Regions from separate parts of the Homo sapiens genome. Here all the other regions are linked to region 1. The links are contacts of gene promoters, found by promoter capture Hi-C in human tissues and cell types (Jung and others, 2019). All regions are on one chromosome and are shown on one strand. The core of a region is centred on a gene start or on the middle of the fragment in contact, and the rest is flanking DNA. Distances in the headings are between cores, read along the strand shown. Region 1 holds the start of DISP1 (dispatched RND transporter family member 1). Region 2 overlaps AIDA (axin interactor, dorsalization associated). Region 3 overlaps DISP1 (dispatched RND transporter family member 1).

Region 1 (2,990 bases), core at 267-2,766:
GTGACCTTTTACTTCACTTAGAGTTGATGTTATGCCCTCTAAGTACAGACTTTCTACACGATATCCATTCCTCATTTTCTTCTACTGTAATCCTATCTCCATATATTGCAATGTATGGCCTTTTGCTGGCAAAAGGAGAAAAAAAGAAAAATGTATGTATTATACCATTCCTTTTTAAAAAGGCAAAGAAAGGGCTTGGTGTGCAAGAGAGTATTTATTAAACACTGGTAGCAAAGAAAACAAACAAAAAATGCAACAGTCCTCATTACTGTAGCTGGTGTTGAAGCTTCTTTCTTCTGGGCCCATTCCATAGTTCCCTGTGACTTCAGTTAGCATCTCAGTTGGTTGGGGTGATTTGCTCAATGCAGCAACCTGAGGGGTATGATCCCTTGTGGTCCTGCCTTTATAGGGTTGTGGTAGCCGTCTATTGCCTTTACATCTGGGTATGGCAGTTCAAGAAAGCACCCTCAAGGATAAAACATGCTATTCATGATGTATTATTTTTCTTTGATGACTAGGACAATCCCCCTAGTCAACCCCATGACTCACTGTTTTGTCTATTCCCTTAGATGACCCCACGGATTCCGTTGCACGGAGTCTCTGAAGTCCAAAATTTTTAAGCATAGGGCACAACGTTCTTCATGATTTGGCCTTGTCTCTTCTCATTATGCTTGCTCTTGCATCTGCCATCTGACACTTTGCTTAACTCCTGGCCAGCTACCGGTACAAGCCAAGCTCTCACTCCATAACGTCCTTCTTCTCTGCATGCCCTTCTCCACTGTGCCTGTCCTTTAACTCTTATTCATCATTTATTTCAGTCTCAATTGAAGAGTCATTATTTCTAGAAAGCCTTCTCCGCCCAGCTCTCTACATTGCACCGTTCCCTACAGCACCACCAGAGTGCCTCTAACACTTGATGGTTTCATTGCTTATATATTTTTGTTTCTGTGCATAAGCCTCCCGAGGGAGCCGCCGCTGTTCGATTTATTCTATAGCTAGTTCCTCGCCCTGAGTGTAAGCCTCACGAGAGTGGGGCTGTCCTCTGTTCGCTCTATCCCCAGCCCCTACAGCAGTGCCTGGTTGTTCACAGGCCTATATAGCAGGTGATAATAATCTGAATAATGAAAGAAGAAACACTGTCTTGTGGCGTGATTTACTTCTGTTTTTACTTATGTCAACTTTTAACTAGATTGTGAGGACAGAGGTCAGTGTCTGAGTCATCTTGTGCCTCACTGGGCTTGGGCAGAATAGACGCTTGGTCAAGCATTTGCACACTGGTCGATGGATACACTAGAAAGAGCAGGAGCGCGAGAGGGAATTTTTTTGGCGCCTGCCTCGCCCTTTCAAGCCAAGCCCCTCTGCCCTCTGCCCCTTGCCAGCCGCCCGTCGCCCGCCGCCGGCGATCCCTCTCCCGGGGAGCGGTAGTCAAGCGAGGCCAGCGGGCCGGGAGCGGGCCGGGAGCGGGCGAGGGGCGGGACTTCCGGTCCCGCTCGCGACGCGGACCGCGCCAGGCGGAAGCCCGGCTCCGGGCCAGCATCCGAGAGCCCGGACTGGAGGTGAGTTCGCAGCCGGAACGTTGCAGGCACTTGTTTCCTCAGTGGATGCCTTTCGGCGCGCCGCCGCCCGGCGCCGCGGGACTGGGAGACCGGGTAGGGACGGGAGAGTCGGCATCTCCCGCGCGTGTGGAGGGAAATCCGGGACCCCAGGCTTGAGAGAAGGGCCAGGACTGAGAACGGGGAACCAGGAGAGCCCTAAGGGCAGCCTTTAGGGACTGAGGAGGGAGGCACCGGGGACCCTGAGGCCAAAGAGGCCCTGAGACTGGAGGTTGCGGATGACACGGGGCAGAGTTGCATCTCGGAGGAAAGTAGTCATTCGTGGGGGCGTGTCCCGGGTCCTGGCGGATTGACTGAGAGGATGGCAGGAGATGGCAAAGGTTGGCTTCCAGGGAGAGGTTACAGAGGAGGGAGTCAGTCCTTCTCTGAGGGTCGTAGGTGAGAAGGACGTCTTGACCTAACGAACCAGAAAGATGACCAGCCACCTATTGGATGCTGAACTCCTATTGCTTCATTTGCAATTCATGCAGTTTGTTTTTTGTTTTTAGAAATATATCCCGCTCCGCGCGTGTGGATTTCGGGAAAATATTGTATATTCCTAGGGACCGCTCGAATTCTTGCTTCACCCAGATTCTGCGTGTCTTTGTCAAACTGATAGTAGTTGAGAGTTCTCTTCACCCAAGGAAGACAACCAAAGTTTTCCTTTTGGACTCTTCTCTACCCTGCAGAGTTTAGCTTGTCTTATTTCCCTTGTCATGGGATGAACTAAATGCGTTCAGAATTATGGTGATAATCACATGGAAAGCCAGTGCTGTCAATGTTTGCAGTTTCAACTCATTGTTTTTCTGTCCAACTTTCTAACACATTTTTTCTAAAAGCTATTTTGTTGGGTTTAGTCTTTTAGTTTAACCAATAAAGGCAATTTTACATCAGGGTGCAGCAAATTACTAGCAGTTCTTAAGATTTTACTGTTCCTTTTTATTTCTGCTGTAAGGAAATATATATATATATATATATATATATATATAAATATTTGCCATTGTCAGTGTTTTTTAAAAATATTGATAACCCAAGATCTGTTGTTACACGCACATTAGCACATTTAGTTTTCCCCAGTGGCCAGTGTTTGGTATGTGGGCTCATTATTATTACCAAAGGTAATTATTGATTTAGTTATTATTTACCTTGCATTTATGTTTTATTGGATGTGATTAATATGTGCTTCCTAATCTACATAATATAGTGTTTCACTCAGTGTAATTACAAAGATTCTCCTAGCTTTTAAGTAGGTAGTAAGTGAATTGGATTTTTGCCACAAAGTGAGCAAGGTAGCTAGGAAGAATCATAACACTGTCACTGATGGAGGGTGAGATCTGATGATTGCTTTGCTTGTTTCAGGTGTTTCACATTTCAAATGTTAGAAGTTTTTGTTTTAAA
Region 2 (2,990 bases), core at 290-2,789, 120 kb before region 1:
AAAGCTTTTGGCAGCTATTCATTGGTTACCAAACCCAGTTGTTATAATGACAACACTATCAGGAACTGAAATGAAAGCTAAGTGAACTAATCATAAAAGAAGACCAAATAAGTATCATGAACTTTATTTTACACCAGAAATCGCTGAGAATATTAAGAATTTAAAAAATGAAGTTTTCATACTATTTATCACCAATTAATAAAGTTTAGAGATCAGTAGTTCTGCTTTAGAGCTTGTTAGACTTAAAATAAATATCGTGAAAATGAATATAAGTTACTCTCTCAAAAATGAGAATTTATCTAAAAAACAGAATTAATCGTCTTAAATAACAATCATATGTGAATAAATATCAACAACCTAAGACAACAGAATAGCATTTATTCATCAATTTTTTTTTTTTTTTTTTTTGAGACGCAGTTTCACTCTTGTTGCCCAGGCTCGGGTGCAGTGGTGTGATTTCGGCTCACTGCAACCTCTGCCTCCCAGATTCAAGCGATTCTCCTGCCTAAACCTCCCAAGTAGCTGGGATTACAAGCATGTCTGACCACGCCCAGCTAATTTTGTATTTTTAGTAGAGACGGGGTTTCTCCGTGTTGGGCAGGCTGGTCTCGAATTCCAGACCTCAGGTGATCCGCCCGCCTCAGCCTCCCAAAGTGCTGGGATTACAGGCATGAGCCACCACGCCTGGCCCATCAAATATTTTTAAGGGCTCACTGTGCACTAGACAGTAACAAGTTTCATAAAGAAAGCACTTTAAAAATATGTTTTGTGTTTGTTTGTTTTGAGACAGAGTCTAGCTCTGTAGCCCAGGGTGGAGTACAGTGGCAGGATCTTGGTTCACTGCAAGCTCCGCCTCCCAGGTTCATGCCATTGTTCTGCCTCAGCCTCCCGAGTAGCTGGGACTACAGGTGCCCGCCACCACGCCTGGCTAATTTTTTGTATTTTCAGTAGAGACGGGGTTTCACCGTGTTAGCCAGGACAGTCTCGATCTCCTGACCTCATGATCTGCCTCACTCGGCCTCCCAAAGTGCTGCGATTACAGGTGTGAGACACCCCGTCTGGCCAAAGTATGTTTTGTTTTGTTTTTTTAATTTTCTTTCAAAGTTGTGCAAACTATTGAACGGTTGGCATAATTCTAAGATTTGCCATTGCTACAAAAACACTAAAAATAGTAAAAGCATAAAAATTCCAATTAAAAATAAAAAACATAAACAACAATTTTGCTTAGCATAATGTAAAGAACATTTTCCATTTTCCTCTTTTGAAGAAAACACAATTGAGTTTTTTCTCCTTTGGCTTGCATGCTAGGCATTTAATTAATTTTGCAGATCCAACAGTTTATATCAAAATTTCCCATAATATGTTTCAGAACACTGGACTCAATGAAATGTTCTTTGAAGGGAGACGGAGACTTCCAAAAGCAAATAAATTTTAAAATACTACATGCCCAAACTCTTTAAAATATTAAACGTACACATGTGCATACTAAAGGTCCCGAGAAGTCACAAACTCTATCTGTTCAAATAACATCTATTAATTTTTCAGAACCAATGTTCCCCAGAATACACCTGGAAGATCTGTTTTCTAATCATTTATTAACTTAGAGCCTCTGATAACTTATTCCCTATGTGACATTGAAATAAGGCCTACATGTCAGTATGGCTTTTTTTGGCCCGCTGTGAATGTTTTGCTTGCATTTTTAAAGAAAATTAAACTTTTTTTTTTTTTTTGAGACAAGTCTCGCTCTGTCGCCCAGGCTGGAGTGCAGTGGTGCGATCTCGGCTCACTGCAAGCTCCGCCTCCCGGGTTCATGCCATTCTCCTGCCTCAGCCTCCCGAGTAGCTGGGACTACAGGTGCCCGCCACCACGCTGGCTAATTTTTTGTATTTTTAGTAGAGACGGGGTTTCACCGTGAATTCGATCTCCTGACCTCGTGATCTGCCCACCTCGGCCTCCCAAAGTGCTAGGATTACAGGCGTGAGCCACCGCGTCCGGCTAAGAAAATTAAACTTTTAAAGGCATACAAATTGCCTTATATTCACAATGTAGTATACAGTGATTTGGGGTTCCTTATCCAAGTCCAAAGAATAGGCAGGCAGGCACAAGCTCTCTCTGTAGTCTCAACTGGCAGCCACAAATGCCTCCTAGGCAGGTATCATAAATAATAAATGCCTCAGAAATCAGGCCTCCAGTAAAGAAGGCAGGGCAGAACACTTCAAAGTAGAGGACATGAGAAGATTCAGGGATACTCTGAAGATCATTTAGAGTTTTCTAGTCCCTCATTTCATACATAAGAAAATTAAGGCCACAGCCAGAGCAAGAGCAAGACTCCCAGTCTTCTGACTCCAGATCTCAGCTCTCTCGTCTAGGTCATGCTGCCTCCTGGTCCTTTTGGGGTACAAGATCTGTGGGTCGGGCCGGGCGCGGTGGCTCACGCCTGTAATCCCAGCACTCTGGGAGGCCCAGATGGGCGGATCACGAGGTCAGGAGATCGAGACTATCCTGGCTAACACGTGAAACCCTGTCTCTACTAAAAATACAAAAAATTAGCTGGGCGCGGTGGCGGGCGCCTTAGTCCCAGCTACTCGGGAGGCTGAGGCAGGAGAATGGCGTGAACCCGGGAGGCGGAGCTTGCAGTGAGCCGAGATAGCGCCACTGCACTCCGGCCTGGGTGACAGAGCAAGACTCCGTCTCAAAAAAAAAAAAAAAGATCTGCGGGTCTTTGCAACCAAAGATAAGCTGAAAAAAGACAGTGGCCATGTGGCTGCTAAGGAATAGCTATAAATTTAAAACTAAATAGCTTTATCAAACACCAGCTTCAGCCTTAGAAAGTTGAAGAAAATTAAGAAAAAGTTAATTTTTTCTCATCAGTCTAATCATTATACGATAGACTCATTTCTTGATTTTTTTTGGGGGGGGGGGGACAGGGTCTCACTGTGTCGCCCAGGCTGGAGTGCAGTGGCATGATCTCAGCTCACTGCAATCTCCGC
Region 3 (2,990 bases), core at 341-2,840, 80 kb after region 1:
CCCTGCCATTCAGCAGGTCCTAAGTTCTTGTCCCGTGTCCAGGAATAATGAGGTACATGGACAACTGGAGTGTGAGCAAGGTGGAGAGGAGCTTCATTGAGTGGCAGAACAGTTCTCAGGAGACCCGAAGTGGGTAGCTCCCTCCCGCAGGCAGGTCATCCCTACAAGTTGAGGAGACGTGAAGTGGGTAGTTCCTTCTCCCAGCCGGTAGTCCCCATGTCTGTGTGAATCTGACTGGGTGGGTGGTTATGGGTCTCATAAGGCAGGAAGTGTGTACTGGTTGATCCATGGTTGGGCCCAGAAAAAGCTCCCTAAGTTCTCACTCCCGGTGCAGACTTCACCTAGAACTGACAGCCCGGTCCCCAGGCTTCAGGCCGTCCCTGGCTTGAAGGTGGGGCTTCACCAGGGACCTACCCCTTTCCACCCAGGAGCCAGTCTGCCTCCTGACACCGTAAGTCACTTTAGTCCATCGCGCCCAGGCTGTTCCTGCAGAGAGGCACCTGCAGGCCAATGCTGAGCCACCCTCAGTGCCCCCTCGGGCTCCCTCCCATACTTGTAGGCACCCAAAGTCCAGAGGGGACTGAGGCAGCAGGGGGCTGGAGTGTTAGCACTGCCTCAACTGTGCACACACCCGCCCGGGTTGCGACAGCGCCTGGACTCGGCTTCAACTTTGCTCCCAAATCAGAGCGAGTGCTGGGAGCAGGGAGCAGGGGGAGGCCAGGCAGCAGGAGCAGTCACTTCCAAGCCTGTGGGGGCAGGGGGCTTCTCGGGCCCCCAAGAGTGCAGAGATGCCTGGGTCCGCAGCCATGGCTGGGTGGCTGTAGCTGCGCCTGGGAGCATGGGGCTCCTGCTTTGCCAATTCGGAAATGGGTGGGGCTCCCACCTGTTCCCGCTCCCGCTGGCTCCCTGGAACAGGCACCACGAACCCGGCTGTGCCTCCCCTGCTACAGCCGGCGACGCTGCAGCGGCTGCTCCAGACGGGCTGCGGGTGCCATCATTATTATTTTAAAACACATAAATAAATATTTGAAAAATACAGAATAACCTACGAGATTGAGAATTCTTGTAGATTCCAATTTATTTCCTAAAGATTTAGAAACACCACCTAAGAGATTGATTTGACCCAAAGGCTGGGATTAAGGACCCACAGGTAGAAAAATAAGCATCTGAGTAGGGACACCCTTTCTTCTTTCCTTATTTTGGGGGAAGGATTTCAGGATGGGTAGAAATACAGATGCATTTGAAAATCTAGAGAATAGTCTCAGTTTTCTTTCCAAAGGAGTACACTCACATTTCTTAATTGTGATGGGCAAAGGGCAGGGCTGAGATACCAGAGGTAGGTTGTTATGGTTTGGAACAGCTGACCAGGGATGAGCCTAAGGAGATACTGTCCAGTTGAATGCTCAGCTGAAGTTATCAGGGAAATTCTGAAAGGCTCATTAGGAACCTTTTGTAGACCTTGGTGCTTTTTTGCCACTGTACTCTTTCCAAGTAGTTAACCGAATACCAGTCAACTTAGAAAATAAATTCAACACATTTTACTGTTAATTTGGCTTATATTTATTGTTTTAAGAATAACTGATTTTTTAAAAAAATGATGAAATACAAACTTCTGCCATTTATCTCATCATTTTTCGCAATCTGTGATTTTCTTTTCCTTTGTGAGGGAATGCTGGGAATACATCAGTAGTTGCCCAGTTCTGACTGTTTATAACAAACAGAATAATTAATGTACATTTTATCTCTTTAAAATAACATGATTGATAAACAGATCAATGGAACAGAATAAAGAGTCCTGAAAGACTCACACATACATGGCCGGCTGATTTTTCAGCAAAGGTGCCAAGGTAATTCAATGGAGAAGGATCAGTCTTTTCCACATATGATGGGTTAACTGGATCTCTTGCAGGTGGAGAGGGAAAACTTGATCTCTATCCCACAGCAAATATAAAAATTTTCTAAAAGTAGATTATAGACCTAAATGCTGTAAACCTAAGGCTATGAAACTTTTAGAAGAAAACATAGAGAATCTTTGTGACCTTAGGAAAGGCACAAAGATTTCTCAAGATTTTTTAAAAAGCCTATTCATAAGATTTTTTAAAGTGTTGATAAATTGGACTTTATCGTAATTACAAATTTCTGCTCTTCAAAAGATACCATTTAAAAAATGAAAAAGCGAGGCTACAAGGTGCAGTGGCTCATGCCTGTAATCCCAGCAGTTTGGGAGGTCCAGGTGGGAGGATAGCTTTACATCCAGGAATTCGAGACCAACCTGGGCAACATAGGGAGACACCGTCTCTACAAATGAAAAAAATTAGCTGAGCATGGTGATGCATGCCTGTGGTCCCAGCTACCGGTAGGCCGAAATGGGAGGATTTCTTGAGCCTGGGAAGTCAAGGCTGCAGTGAGCCATGATCCTGCCACTGCACTCCAGCCTGGGTGACAGAGCACAATCCTGTCTCAAAAAAAAAGAGGCTGGGCGCGGTGGCTCATGCCTGTAATCCCAGCACTTTGGGAGGCCAAAGCAGGTAGATCACCTGAGGTCAGGAGTTTGAGACCAGCATGAGCAAGATGTTGAAGCCCCGTCTGTACTAAAAATACAAAAATTAGCTGGGTGTGCTGGTGGGCGCCTGTAATCCCAGCTACTCCGGAGGCTGAGGCAGGAGAATTGCTTGAACCCAGGAGGTGGAGGTTGCAGTGAGCTGAGATCGCACCATTGCACTTCAGCCTGGGTGACAGAGTGAGACTCTATCTCAGAGAAAAAAAAAAAAAGGTAAAAAGAAAAAGCAAGGTACAAAGTAGGAGAAAATATTTGTAATACAATGTGTGACAAAGGGCTTGTATCTAGAATGTTAAAAGAACTCTTACATGGCAAACAACTTTTAAGAGGTGAGCAAAGATTTGAAAAGACACACAAAGAAGATATACAGATGGCCAATAAGCACATGGAAAGATGAGCATCATCATTAGTCATCAGGGAAATTATTTAA

The links. The method cuts DNA at HindIII sites, captures the fragments that hold promoters and counts their contacts. A contact is called where the count stands out against the background at its distance.
Region 2: a contact is called between a fragment that was not itself captured here and the fragment with the promoter of DISP1 in region 1, in 2 of the 25 tissues and cell types used here (mesendoderm cells and thymus).
Region 3: a fragment that was not itself captured here is called in contact with the fragment with the promoter of DISP1 in region 1 in 2 of the 25 tissues and cell types used here (IMR-90 fibroblasts and mesendoderm cells).

Annotation. Positions count from the first base shown.
Region 1 is chr1:222,813,523-222,816,512 of GRCh38, forward strand. It overlaps DISP1 (dispatched RND transporter family member 1), which reads left to right and starts at 1,517. Exons shown (of 9, transcript NM_001377229.1): 1 at 1,517-1,556. RefSeq lists an enhancer at 908-967 and silencers at 1,208-1,287, 1,378-1,477. The HindIII fragment of the contact is 9,383 bases long and covers 1-2,990 here.
Region 2 is chr1:222,698,061-222,701,050 of GRCh38, forward strand. All of the region lies in intron 2 of AIDA (axin interactor, dorsalization associated), which reads right to left. Among named protein-coding and RNA genes, the nearest start is that of AIDA, 13 kb to the right of the region's middle. The HindIII fragment of the contact is 6,571 bases long and covers 1-2,990 here.
Region 3 is chr1:222,893,846-222,896,835 of GRCh38, forward strand. All of the region lies in intron 1 of DISP1 (dispatched RND transporter family member 1), which reads left to right. Among named protein-coding and RNA genes, the nearest start is that of DISP1, 80 kb to the left of the region's middle. The HindIII fragment of the contact is 8,490 bases long and covers 1-2,990 here.